Regions from separate parts of the Homo sapiens genome. Here all the other regions are linked to region 5. The links are contacts of gene promoters, found by promoter capture Hi-C in blood cells and fetal thymus (Javierre and others, 2016). All regions are on one chromosome and are shown on one strand. The core of a region is centred on a gene start or on the middle of the fragment in contact, and the rest is flanking DNA. Distances in the headings are between cores, read along the strand shown. Region 1 holds the start of KRTAP4-2 (keratin associated protein 4-2). Region 2 holds the start of KRTAP4-6 (keratin associated protein 4-6). Region 3 holds the start of KRTAP4-4 (keratin associated protein 4-4). Region 4 holds the start of KRTAP4-12 (keratin associated protein 4-12). Region 5 has its middle 5.7 kb from the start of KRT19.

Region 1 (2,700 bases), core at 169-2,668, 360 kb before region 5:
GTGTCCATTCAGGTGACAGTAAACTCAAGAGTTGATCAAAATCTATGGTAACCATTCATATTGTACAAAAACATTTTGAAGGACACTAATACTGAGATTAGGAATGCTGCTGTTTTAGATTGTGTGCTCTCTGGGGCAAACCCACAAAAGAGGATCTGAGAACATGTGGTATATTTGGACGATTAACCCAAGAAACACTGGAGGAAACTTGAAGAATGACCCTGGGAAGGAGGGAAAGTCATTATAGAGTGAGTTCATGATCAGAATGTTCCTGCAGGCATCTGGTATAAATCCCGCTGAAGACCTCTGGAAGACTGGTTTGACATACCCCCCACTGGAGGGAAACAAGCCAGGGCATATATTACCAACTCCCACTCATTCTCTGAGTGCTGTTCCTAGAGGCTTTAAGTCTCCAGCCCAGAGTTTGCTCCTTTATCCAGAGAAAGTCCTCAGGTAGAGAGTTCCAGGTGCCTGCTCTAAGGAACCATTTTCCTATGTTTGAATGGAGAGTGCTGATAGGATAGAGGTGGAGCCCCTGATATCATCTGCTGTGGTCTTCTCCCTCTGCAGGGAAGAACATCAGAAAATTTGACAGGTAAGGATGAGAATTCAAGAAGGAAAAATGAGACACAATGCCCGTATATTATTTGTATGCCTCAAAAATTAAAATTTATTTAAGATAGAGGAATAGCTCCATGTGATAAATTATGGTAGAGAGCAAATATTTCAATTCAGGGAACATGGGGTTGACATATTTCAGAGAAAATTCAAACTTGTATTCATTTGGTAGAGGGTAGCAACATAGTGTTTGGTGAGCATATTTGGAGGCCAAACTCAATCCAAGAATTGGTTGGAACTGAGGTTGTCCAATTGGCCTTGCATGATTCAGTTCACAGGTGGATCATATCAAGAATGCTGGTTAATAAAGGCAGGTGAGTATAGGTGAGGGCATCAGCAGCAAGAGCCACTAGAGCAGGTTGGGCGGCAGCAGGTGGACACACAGCAGCTGGGGCGGTAGCAGGTGGTCCTGCAGCAGGTGGTCTGGCCACAGCTGGGGCGGCAGCAGGTGGGCTGGCAGTACACAGACTGGCAGCACTGGGGTCTGAAGCAGCTGGACACACAGCAGCTGGGACGGCAGCAGGTGGTCCTGCAGCAAGTGGTCTGGCAGCAGCTGGGGCTGCAGCAGGTGGGCTGGCAGCACACAGACTGGCAGCACTGCGGTCTGCAGCAGCTGGACACACAGCAGCTGGGGCGGCAGCAGGTGGTCCTGCAGCAGGTGGTCTGGCAGCAGCTGGGACGGCAGCAGTTCTCTAGGCCACAGCCCTGGTCAGAGCACACAGAGCCACAACAGGAGTTGACCATGGTGTCAGAGGGTGGAGGTTCTGGGTGGATTTCCAGGAAGGTGGGTTTGGAAGGTTTGGAAGTTTCCTTGCCCCAGATCCTCTTTTATACCCTGCTAAGGCCTGATGTCATCAGATGCAACACTCTTTCCTTGTTATTATTTGTCCTGATATGTAGGCAATTATCAAATTAGGCAAGTTTGTTGTTCTGGTTAACTTATCCACATAGATGGAAACACTGTCTCCTTTCCCTAATGTGTTAGGACTCCTTAGCTCAGCTCTTCCTGAACCACCTCCTGTGTCTCTCTTACTATAGCTTCCTCCTAGAGCAGCCATGTGACATCTGCCTGTAAGCACATACTATGTGCTTCAGTCTCATTTGCTTAACACATCATGACTACTCTTGGGTGATTACTATTCTTACAGGCCCTTGACTCTTTCTGGTGACTCAGGAGGATAAAGCTGCATTTCAGTCTGATGGCTCCTTCATTATGGGTCAGATGGCCTGTGAAGGTTTCAGTGTGAAACAGATTTCAGTGTGAAACAGATGACCACTGGTGTGAGAACGAGAACACCGTAGGACCTATCGCTTTTTTATCTTCCGCACTCTGAATTGTGACCCATTTTCTAGACCTTCTGATGAGAAATACAGAGCTGTTTTAAGGTGGAAAACTAAGCTGTGAAAGTTTGATGTTTCCTTTTCTACAGAAACAACCCTCCAAAATTCAGATTCAGGGCCTCTTGGGGAATGTTGGCTTCAGAGAACAGCTATACTTAAAGGTCCAAGTCCCTCATTTTTTTGCTCCCTGGGGCAGATTTTCCTTGTGACTTTGCCTTTCTGCCTTCCTAGCTCTAACAGGGCACATGAGCTCATCTCTCCAGGTTCCAAAATTTTCTGGCCAACCCAAATTAGATGACTCAGTATCCTTTGCTTGCTCTAATTCGCTCCCAGCCCTCTTGCTTTCTCTGCTGAATTGCTGGGCCTTGAAGATGTCCTATACTCTGCTGCTTCCTTATAGAAGTTGTTGATCCAATTTCACACTTTACATCTTTGTTTTCAAAAAATAAATCAATAAAGAGAGAAAGAAAGCAGAAAACAGGTATCAAGAACAAAGGATATCAGCCTATATTTTTTCATGTAGGGATGGCTGACTATTGTTTCAAAAATGTGCTATGTTGTCAATTCATTAACTCATCAGTTAATAAATATATATGTATTTCCCCACCCCTGAGGAGTCAAGGAACCCAGGGAAGGGGGTGGAAAAATGTCTGACTTACCATGATAGAAATGTTTTATGAACTGGGCAGCCTCTGCAGATAATCAGGGGAGGAGTTTCAGTGTAAGCTGGTGTTTCTGAGG
Region 2 (2,700 bases), core at 141-2,640, 390 kb before region 5:
AGGAGTGAGATTGTAGGGAAAGATACACTTTCAAAAATATTTAAGAAAATTTAGCTGTGGGATATAACCCTTCTCCATATTCATAAAAAAACTTAACTTAAAATCTTTATTTTTTTCAATACTTTTGGAAACATCCATGTATTGCCTTTTTTTTAGGTCATTACATGTTGCAATTTTCTTGAAGGTGAGAGCAAGAATAGGATTCGTTCAGTTGTGTTTTGGGTGGAATTTCTCAGGAACTAAGGACAATCATTACAAAGCAACACAAAAAGAACATTGTATTTCTATGCGACAAAAGTGGAGTTTTATTCAGAAGCAGCAAAAATAAGATACAGAAACATTGCTGTAAAAGGAAATACAGGGTGAAACAATCAGACTTTCAAATCTGAGAGTGAGACAACCTTGCCCCGAGTTACCCTGCAAGAATTTCCATGTTTGGGACAGAAGAACTTGGTATCCATAAATACAAATATAAGGTATAAAATTTGGTAAATTCTATTAATTTCTTTCTGTAAATAATATCTAATTTCACACTTGGGTCAACATGGGGAACATATATTCTAGATGTATAGCCAGGACATATATCCTAGATATATGTCCAGGATATGGAAACACAGTTGGTGGGAATGGCCTCTTCTGAGTTGTTTATGAGATGCACAAGGTCTGCTTCTGTGAGGAGTGAGCTGAAGGGGAGGAGATAGTTTCAGGCAAGGAGCTCAGCAGCAAGAGGAGGCACAGCACAAGGGACGGGGGCAGGTGGAAATGACACAGGTTGGGCGATAGCAAGTGGTGTGGCAGGAGACTCGGCCACAGACTGGACGCAGGCAGCAGCAGGGGCGGCAGCAGCACGGGCGGCAGCAGCTGGATTCACAGCAAGAGGGGCGGCAGCAGCTGGAGATGCAGCAGCTGGGACGGCAGCAGGTTGGCTGGCAGCACACAGACTGGCAGCACTGGGACCTGCAGCACCTGGACACACAGCAGCTGGGGCGACAGCAGCTGGAGATGCTGCAGCTGGGACGGCAGCAAGTGGGCTGGCAGCACACAGACTGGCAGCACTGGGGTCTGCAGCAGCTGGATACACAGCAGCTAGGGCGGCAGCAGGTGGTCCTGCAGCAGGTGGTCTGACAGCAGCTGGGACAGCAGCTGGGACGGCAGCAGGTGGGCTGGCAGCACACAGACTGGCAGCACTGGGGTCTGCAGCAGCTGGACACACAGCAGCTGGGGCGGCAGCAGGTGGTCCTGCAGCAGGTGGTCTGACAGCAGCTGGGGCGGCAGCAGGTCTCCAGGCCACAGCCCTGGTCAGAGCAGACGGAACCACAACAGGAGCTGACCATGGTGTCAGAGGGTAAAGGTTCTGGGTGGGTTTCCAAGAGAGTGAGTTTCGTGAGTTTGGGAGTCTCCTTGCTGCATGTCCCCTTTTATACCCAGCTGAGGAGCCTTTGTGATTATGAGAAGATTGTTTCCTTGTTTTTGTTTATATGACACAAATGCAATTACTAAATTATATTGTGTTTTTCTAGTAAAAAATCCCAATATATAGAAAATGATTATTTCCCTTTTCTCACCCTGGTGTTCCCACATGAGTCACCTCTTGTTTTCCTTTCCTTGGTTTCAGTGTCACATGACTTCAGTCTCTGGGTATCATGTGACATGGGAGGGCCACTGTCACTTGTCTGTTTCTCATCATGATATCGTTTTGGGAGAGCTTCTGATTGGGCTAAGATCTCTAGTGGAGAAATGCATGTGTCAATCAGCTGGAATGCTGACAGGAAAAAAAGAAAATATGCTCCTGTTTTTGAGTGTGAGAAATAAGGAAGCTTATGATTCATTGTATGTATTCTGGGTGGCCATTGAGCTAACTAAATTCCTAGGTCATTGCAAGCTGTGTTAATTCTCATCACTCTGGTGCACCTTGAAACAGTTAGTAGTGACTCACTGTTTCTAAGGAACAAAGCATCATCTGGGCTTGAGCTGCGTCTGTCTTCAAAAGTGTCCTACAGGCTGAAGTAGAGTAATGTGGATCATAGTTTTTGATCTGCCTTTTGAAATATCAAATGTGTAATGGTTATGCTTTATTGACATTTTGTTAAAATCTTTTTCATACATTTTGAGCTAAAACATCTAGCAGGGTTTTTTTTTAGTATCACTTATTTCTAAGATTTTTTAAGAAGCATTGAGAGGAATATAAAAGATATATTCTTTAACTTACAGGTACTTATGTAACTGTGGACCTCAATTTTAAAAATCACCCACTTTCTCTTCCTTTCCTCCCCTCTCACCTCTTCATTCCTTCCCTCTGCACACTCCCTTCTGGCAATACTATCTAATATCTTATCTAATTATATTCTTGCTTAAGAAATTCCAGAGGCTAATCTTGAAACAAACCAGGCACAGAGCCCTGAGGAATCCTCTCACTTAGGGGGAATCTTGAACAATTAATCCACCACCATTGGGCTGAAGTCAAAATAATGCCTCCCAAACCTCTGGACACCCAAGATAGCCATTGGAACAAGACATGCAGACTCAGCACCCTGCACCACCCCTGCATGTCTCCCATGCCAAGTTTCCCTTTCAAAACCCTATGGCAAATTTTAAAATTTAAGATGGCACTTTAGAATGCTAGTTCACTAGCTAAAGGATGTCAGTGAGATATATCTTGGGGTGAAATGTTTTTATTTCCTTCACTTAGCATTCTTCTAG
Region 3 (2,700 bases), core at 148-2,647, 370 kb before region 5:
TCCCAACTGGAGGAGAAATAACTAAAGCATGTGTTCACCAACTCTCACTCATTTGTTGAATACTATTCCAAGAGGCTTTAACTCTACAGTCCAGAGCTTGCTCCTTGGCTAGAGAAACTCTTCAAGAAGAGAGTTCCAGGTGCTTGCTCTAAGAAACCACCATTGTATATTAGAATAAAGTGTGCTGAGGAAATAGAGGTGGTGCCCCTGAAATTACATTCTGCAGAGAAGAACAACAGAAAAATTGACTGGTAATTGACCACACTCAAAAAAGAAAAATAATGAGACACAGTATCTGTATATTTCTATGCCTGAAAATTTATTTAAGATTTATTTAGATAAATATTTGTTTAAAATGGAATAGCTCCATATGAGAAATTATGGCAGAGAGCAAATATTTCAATTAAGATAGTTGACAGATTTCAGAGCAAATTACAACTTATGTTCATTTGGTAGAGAGGTAAAATGTGGGGGGAGCATATATTTGGAGGCCAGATTCAATCTAAGAATTGGTTGGAACTGAAGTTTTCCAACTAGCTTCCCATAACTCAGCTCATAGATGAGCTACATCAAGAATGCTGGTTGATGAGAATCTGGTGAGTCCAGATGACAGCCTCAGCAGCAAGAAGCACTAGAGCAGGTTGGGCGGCAGCACATGGTCTGGCAGCAGTTGGGGCGGCAGCAACTGGAGATGCAGCAGGAGAGCCTGCAGCAGCTGAAGCCACAGCAGGAGGAGCTACTGCTGCTAGAGATACTGCAGGAAGGCTGGCAGCAGCTGGAAATGCAATAGCTGGGGTGGCAGCAGGTGGTCCTGTAGCAGGTGGTTTGCCAGCAGATGGGCTAGCAGCATAGAGACTGGCCACAATGGGGCCTGTAGCACCTGGACACACAGCAGCTGGGGCGGCAGCAGGTGGTTCTGCAGCAGGTGGTCTGGCAGCACTGGGGTCTGCAGCAGCTGGACACACAGTAGCTGGGGCAGCAGCAGGTGGGCTGGCAGCACACAGACTGGCAGCACTGGGGCCTGCAGCAGCTGGGGCGGCAGCAGGTGGTCCTACAGCAGGTAGTCTGGCAGCATTGGGGTCTGCAGCAGGTGGGCTGGCAGCACACAGACTGGCAGCACTGGGGTCTGCAGCAGCTGGACACACAGCAGCTGGGGTGGCAGCAGGTGGTCCTGCAGCAGGTGGTCTGGCAGCACTGGGGTCTGCAGCAGCTGGACACACAGCAGCTGGGGCGGCAGCAGGTGGTCCTGCAGCAGGTGGTCTGGCAGTAGCTGGGACGGCAGCAGTTCTCTAGGCCACAGCCCTGGTCAGAGCACACAGAGCCACAACAGGAGTTGACCATGGTGTCAGAGGGTGGAGGTTCTGGGTGGGTTTCCAGGAAGGAGGGTTTGGAAGGCTTGGAAGTCTCCTTGCCCCAGATCCTCTTTTATACCCTGCTCAGGGCTGATGTCATCGGATGCAGCACTCTTTCCTTGTCATTGTTTGTTCTGATGAGCAGGCAATTATCAAATTAGGCAAGTTTGTTTTTCTGCTTAAATTTGTCAACATGGAGAAAAGCATTATTTCCTTCCCCTGGTGTGTTAGGATTCTTCAGGTCAGCTCTTCTTGAACAACCTCTTGTGTGCCTCTTGCTGCAGCTTCCTCCTTGAGCTGCCATGTGACATCTGCCTGCAGGTACCATGTGCTGCAGCCTCATTTTCCTTAATACATTATGTCTGACCTTGGGTGATTTTAATTCTTCTAGGCCCGTAATTTTCTTTTGGTGACTCAGGAGGAGAAAGCTGTGCTTTAATCTCATGGCATGTTTGTTATAGATCAAGTGAGCAATGAAGGTTTGAATGTGAAACAGGTGACCAGTGGCATGAAAACAAATACTATTAGGATATATTCCTTGCCACCTTCCATACAATGAATCATGACCCATTTTCTAGATGTTCTACTGGGGAAAGCAGAATTGTTTTAAGGTGGACATCTAAGTCATGAATTATCGATGCTTCTTTTTCTTGAGAAACAACACTCCAAAACTCAGTTTCAGGGCCTTTAGGGGAAATTGGCTACAGAGATCAGCTATACTAAAAGGTTCAGGTCCCTCCGCTCTCTGCTCTGAGGGGCTGATTTTCCTTCTGACTTTTCCTTCCTGTCTCTCTGGCTTTAACAATCACATTGAGTCATCTCCTCTATTTCTAAGGTTTACTTGCCAACCTAAGGTAAAGGACCCAGTGTCCTTGCTATATATATATAATATATATATATATATATAATATATATTATATATATACATATATATACTATATATAGTATACACACACACGTATATACACACTATATATAAATATACACACTATATATAAATATGCACACTATATATAAATATACACACATACACACACATATATGTGTGTGTATGTATGTGTGTGTATGTGTGCGTGTGTGTGTGTATATATATATATATATATATATATACACACACACACGCACACATACACACACATTATGTCTGACCTTGGGTGATTTTAATTCTTCTAGGCCCATAATTTTCTTTTGATGTATATGTATATATATATATACACTCACACACACACAGGTTTGGGGGAATATATATATTCTGCCAAAGGACCTTAGGAATATATATATATATTATACATATATAGATGGGTAGATAGAGAACCTTATATATAGGTAATATAGGAATATATATATT
Region 4 (2,700 bases), core at 111-2,610, 410 kb before region 5:
TTTCAAAACGTTTCCCCTGTTGTTATATTCATGGATATTTCATGACTTCAGCTTCACTCTTTTTGTCTAAAGAATACAAAATGACTAATTGATTTGCCTAAGCCTGAAAAGACTTTTCTAGAAAAAAACTAGGCAGTGATCGATGTCAGTTGACCTCTGTTAGAAGGTTGACTAATCTGTGCTGTGAGCCCTACAGGTGTAGTTAAATGTAATCACCCAGGACCTAAATATAAAACCCTTTTTAAAAAGAGAATAAGAATCATATTCAATTTTCAGTGCCAATAGAATAGAGGTTTATTTTGGTACATGGAAATAACAAGGTACAAAAATGTTTGCAAAAGACTTTAAGAGAGAGACTTCACTGGACTTCAAGGTTGGAGGCTTTAAGATCTGTGGCCCTACAAATGATGGAGGCAATCTTCAAATTCCTTAGGCATGATGAATAAATGTCCTGAAGTCAAAGAGGTGGGAGGATGTTGGAGGACAATTTGTCAATTTATTAGGAGATTGTCAATGAATTCCTTTGGAAGGAAGGGAGTTTGGACAAAAGGTAGAATGCAAATACAGAATTTCTAAGGATGAGGTTTGCTTATGGGACCCAGATCAATTCTCTTGAACAGTCCGCATGTTTGCAATGAGAGCCTTCATCTGTAGGAAAGGACGTAATAAGGAAGTGGTGTGTTCACAGCAGAGATTTAGCAGCAAGAGGAGGCACAGCACAAGGGGCGGGGGCAGGTGGAGATGACACAGGTTGGGCGATAGCAAGTGGTGTGGCAGGAGACTCGGCCACAGACTGGACGCAGGCAGCAGCAGGGGCGGCAGCAGCTGGATTCACAGCAAGAGGGGCAGCAGCTGCTGGAGATGCAGCAGCTGGGGCGGCAGCAGGTGGGCTGGCAGCACACAGACTGGCAGCACTGGGGTCTGCAGCAGCTGGACACACAGCAGCTGGGGCGGCAGCAAGTGGTCCTGCAGCAGGTGGTCTGACAGCAGCTGGGGCGGCAGCAGGTGGGCTGGCAGCACACAGACTGGCAGCACTGGGGTCTGCAGCAGCTGGACACACAGCAGCTGGGGCGGCAGCAGGTGGTCCTACAGCAGGTGGTCTGACAGCAGCTGGGGCGGCAGCAGGTGGGCTGACAGCACACAGACTGGCAGCACTGGGGCCTGCAGCAGCTGGACACACAGCAGCTGGGGCGGCAGCAGGTGGTCCTGCAGCAGGTGGTCTGGCAGCAGCTGGGGCGGCAGCAGTTCTCCAGGCCACAGCCCTGGTCAGAGCACACAGAGCCACAACAGGAGTTGACCATGGTGTCAGAGGGTGGAGGTTCTCGGTGGGTTTCCAGGAGAGTGAGTGTTCTGAGTTTGATCTCTCCTTGTTCTCTCTTTTGCTTTTTATACCCTGCTGAGAACCACTATGACAATGTGAATAATCTTGTGGTTTGCACATTACTAATAGAGAATCAGTTGTTTTTTAGTAAATTAGATAGTTGTCCTTATCTGGTAAATATTTCTATAAATAGAAAAGGCAACATTTCCTTTTCCTGTTGTATTCTGAGCTATCCAATTTGGTTAAGCCAAGTGAATCAGCTCTCATTCTCCTTCCTTCATCTGATGTGTCTTCTGATGTGTAGACCCATTACATGACATTGTTTGATTGGATTTCATAAGTTAATTCTTTATTTATTTGACTCCTGGATAATAAGTTGAAAATAGATTTTATGATGACTAAATCTCCTCTGCTCTCAAAGAGGTTAAAAATAAATTACATAGAATGCTGGTAGGAAAATGTGATGAAAGATTCATCTTTGGGGGGTGATAGGAGGTAACTTGTGTATAATAAGGAACACTGTGATTCCTTTGAATTTTGTGGCTGGTCAGTGAGATATAAAAGATCCCACTGAAATTCCTGTTTCATGTTATTGACTCTATTTAGCTTGAAACAGATATAATGCAATGATTCATTGCTTTACAAGTAAAAATACATTGGCATGATAGGTCCCTTTATAAATTATTGTTGGCATGTTCTTCAGAGATGGGGATCATAAGGAACATTTTTGTTCTATTTTGTTGGTAAGTCAAGATACCCACTGAATGTGTTTAACTGAAGTGTTATTGAAAGTAGATTTTCTCATACTCGAAAGCTGCTTTTTCTCACAATGTATGTTGGAGATATTTTGCTTGATACATGGAGAAAAGAAACAAAGGATCAAGTTTAATTTCTGTCCTACAGAAGCTTAAACAAGACAAATAAGAAACATGTATAGGAAAGAATTTAGCAACTATTTAGAGAATGGTGTGATTAGTGAACAAAATAACAATTATGTATTTAATCTGTACACTTCCAATGAAAGATGAAACAATACTAATAGTTATAATTTTTTGAGTGCTTACTATGTGTCAGGAATTTTCTGAGTCCTCTATAATTGTTATCTTGTTTATACTTCACAAGGATTCTGCTATGTAGACACAATTTTTCTAAATTCTTTACATCCAAGGTACTTGAGGCCCAGATAGATTGAAGTCACACAGTCTGTAACAGGGAAAGGGCGTCTCTCCTAGAGTGTTCAAGGAACATTTTGCGCATGAACATTTTGCAATTAAATCCCTCCTGATATTTAAAAACAATTATTTATAATTAAAAAGATGCAAGGTATGTTCTCACTCCTAAGTGGGAGTTGAACAATGAGATCACATGGACACAGGGAG
Region 5 (2,700 bases), core at 48-2,547:
AGGAACTTCCTCACCCGCTCCTCCATTCATTCAGTGAACATGCATCAAGCGCAGCTTCTGTGCTACGCATGCTGCCAGGGGCTGGGGCACAGAAGTAAATACAAATATTTCCTGCCTCTAAGAGGCTGACAATCTGGTAGGGGGGTGTATAGAAGTGTATTAGCTTTGGTGAAATGTGGTAGGTTCAATAGCTACATCAATTTTGACTCCTTCCTAAAACCCTGCTATGATATGACAGTTAAGGAGTATTTTAAGAGAATGGAAGAAGAGGTGAGGCACAGTGGCACACGCCTGTAATCCCAGCGCTTTGGAAGGCCGAGGCGGGCAGACTGCTTGAGCTCAAGAGTTTGAGACTGGCCTAGGGAACATGGCGAACTCCTGTCTCTACCAAAAATGCAAACAATTAGCTGGGCATGGTTGTGTGCACCTGTAGTACCAGCTACACAGGACGCTGGGGTGAGAGGATCACCTGAGCTTGGGAGGTGGAGGCTGTAGTGAGCCAAGATTGCGTCACTGCACTCCAGCCTGGGTGACAGAGTAAGACCCAGCTGGAAGGGAGGAAGAAAGGAAGGAAGGAAGGAAGGAAGGGAGGGAGGGAGGGAGGGAGGGAGGGAGGAAGGGAGGGAAGGAGGAGGGGAGGGAAAGAAGGAGGGAAGGAGGAAAGGAAGGAGGGAGGGTCAAAGATGAGAAATGTCAACAAAAGCTTTAAAGCTCAAAAATGGTAACACAGAAGATGAGAGAAAGCTGAGACCCAGGGTTTGGGGGATTAGGAAGGGGTCAACAGAGGAGAGAGCAGGAAGCCCGTGAGAGGCAAGCACATTCTCAACATACTCTAAAGAAGCTCAAGAATTGGGGCACCACAGACATGGAGAGGAAAAGTGGAAGAGGGACCGTAAGCAGGGCTGGCTGGAAGTTTCTGTCAACAGTACCAGGCCCCCTCCCAGACCCCTACCCAACTAAGGCAGCCAGGGGACCACCTCTCCCCAATTCAGGAGAAGACAGGAGATTTACTTTTCCTGATTAGACTGGCCTGCTCACAACGTTTGATGATGTCAAGTGTAGAGAAGCCATGAGTAAATGAACCTCCTCAAACACATTGGTGGGAGGTGGGTTGTAGTAACCACTTTGCAGAGCGATTTGACAATGTCATCATTTTTTTTAACATTCATGCACTTCTTGAGCCATCAGTTCCACTCTTCGTGTTCATCCGAAAGAAACCCTGGCCCGTGTATTGAGGAAGTCATATAAAAGGATGCCCTATGCAGCATTGTTTGCTACAGTGCAAAGACACAAACAATCACTAATGGCGGGGAGGCGTTCAGTAACTATGTAACATCCTGCTGTGGAGGACTAGAAATTAAATGGAATGAGTAATGACAATGAATAGTGACACTGAAAACCCTAAAGAACTAGTTATTGGGCCGGACATGGTGGCTCACGCCTGTAATCCCAGCACTTTGGGAGGCCAAGGTGGGTGGATCACCTGAGGTCAGGAGTTCGAGACCACCCTGGCCAACATGGTGAAACCCCGTCTCCACTAAAAGTACAAAAATTAGCCAGTCGTGGCGGCGGGTGCCTGTAATCTCAGCTACTCGGGAGGCTAAGGCAGGAGAATTGCTTGAACCCGGGAGGCAGAGCTTGCAGTGAGCTGAGATCGAGCCATTACACTCCAGCCTGGGTGACAAGAGTGAAACTCCATCTCAAAAGAAAAAAAAAAAAAAACTAGTTGTTGGGTACAGTAAATCTAGTTGGAGAGCAACACACTTAATATGATAAATTCATGTCAACATACATTCAAAAGATGACTTATTGCTAAGGTCCATATGAATATGTATGAATATATGCATAGGTAAGGAAGGAATCTGATTGAAGGATGGTAGCCAATAGGAACCTAAGCTTAATCTCTATGGTTTTAAGTTTTATAAGAATGTATTTAGTATTTCTTGTTAATTAAAGTAAATAATTTCTTAAGTAACACTAAACCACAGACATTTAGAACTAGCCAAATTTCATATAGTCAATACCCTCTTCCCCTCCCTGCACTCACCACTGACATCATTGTCTCTGCTCATCCACACCAACCCTAGCCTTGAATTGAGAAATGAGAGAGGAAGTTTTGGAAGAGGGAGAACTAGATGTGAGGAGAAAAGAGACCCTGGAAAGGGTTTCCATCCTCGTGCCCCCACCCCTGGGTCCGCCAGGCTAGTTTTACTTCTTTATGAAACAAGAAGGCAAAACGGACAAGAAGAACTTTGGAAGAGTCTGAGTACAGGGAGAGCTCCTTGCAGCCGATGACTTACACCTGAGGAAAGCCCTCCCACTCTGGTTCTCCAAGGATCCATCGTCTGGAAGCATCTGAAGTTGGCCCCCCTGGGTGTTCTCACAACAGACAACAAGGCTCTCCCAGGTGGTGGCGTGGATCTGTGGGGCTACAGCTGGTGGCAGAGCAGAGGGTATTCTATGCAAGACAGCAGCCACCTTGTGGGCACATGCGAGGCATTCCCCTGGGGACTTTCTGAAATAACTGGAAGATCTTTAGGGGGTGCTGGAGTGGGAGCCACCATGTGGGCCATCAGGCTAGAGCTATTGACCCAGTATTGAGGTATGCCTCAAACCAATCAATGTGATCAAGTATGTAGACACTGGGAATTATGTCTGCCTGGGGGCATTGAGAGCTATTTAATTACAGAGGCATGACCC

What was found. The method cuts DNA at HindIII sites, captures the fragments that hold promoters and counts their contacts. A CHiCAGO score of 5 or more calls a contact.
Region 1: a contact is called between the fragment with the promoter of KRTAP4-2 here and a fragment that was not itself captured in region 5, in 5 of 17 cell types (total CD4 T cells, naive CD8 T cells, activated CD4 T cells and 2 more). The highest score is 8.3, in total CD4 T cells.
Region 2: a contact is called between the fragment with the promoter of KRTAP4-6 here and a fragment that was not itself captured in region 5, in 6 of 17 cell types (non-activated CD4 T cells, total CD4 T cells, naive CD4 T cells and 3 more). The highest score is 8.3, in non-activated CD4 T cells.
Region 3: the fragment with the promoter of KRTAP4-4 here is called in contact with a fragment that was not itself captured in region 5 in 2 of 17 cell types (total CD4 T cells and naive CD4 T cells); the score reaches 5.5 in total CD4 T cells.
Region 4: a contact is called between the fragment with the promoter of KRTAP4-12 here and a fragment that was not itself captured in region 5, in 8 of 17 cell types (total CD4 T cells, naive CD4 T cells, naive CD8 T cells and 5 more). The highest score is 11.5, in total CD4 T cells.

What each region holds. Positions count from the first base shown.
Region 1 is chr17:41,176,803-41,179,502 of GRCh38, forward strand. It overlaps KRTAP4-2 (keratin associated protein 4-2), which reads right to left and starts at 1,419. Exons shown (of 1, transcript NM_033062.4): 1 at 644-1,419. The coding sequence starts at 1,362. The coding sequence ends at 952. The HindIII fragment of the contact is 17,641 bases long and covers 1-2,700 here.
Region 2 is chr17:41,139,154-41,141,853 of GRCh38, forward strand. It overlaps KRTAP4-6 (keratin associated protein 4-6), which reads right to left and starts at 1,391. Exons shown (of 1, transcript NM_030976.2): 1 at 280-1,391. The coding sequence starts at 1,334. The coding sequence ends at 717. RefSeq lists an enhancer at 523-1,035. The HindIII fragment of the contact is 3,012 bases long and covers 1-1,815 here.
Region 3 is chr17:41,159,351-41,162,050 of GRCh38, forward strand. KRTAP4-4 (keratin associated protein 4-4) reads right to left here and starts at 1,398. Exons shown (of 1, transcript NM_032524.2): 1 at 299-1,398. The coding sequence starts at 1,341. The coding sequence ends at 841. The HindIII fragment of the contact is 13,067 bases long and covers 1-2,700 here.
Region 4 is chr17:41,122,822-41,125,521 of GRCh38, forward strand. It overlaps KRTAP4-12 (keratin associated protein 4-12), which reads right to left and starts at 1,361. Exons shown (of 1, transcript NM_031854.3): 1 at 270-1,361. The coding sequence starts at 1,301. The coding sequence ends at 696. RefSeq lists an enhancer at 488-1,041. The HindIII fragment of the contact is 5,176 bases long and covers 1-2,225 here.
Region 5 is chr17:41,532,664-41,535,363 of GRCh38, forward strand. No RefSeq gene overlaps it. Among named protein-coding and RNA genes, the nearest start is that of KRT19, 5.7 kb to the left of the region's middle. The HindIII fragment of the contact is 1,193 bases long and covers 702-1,894 here.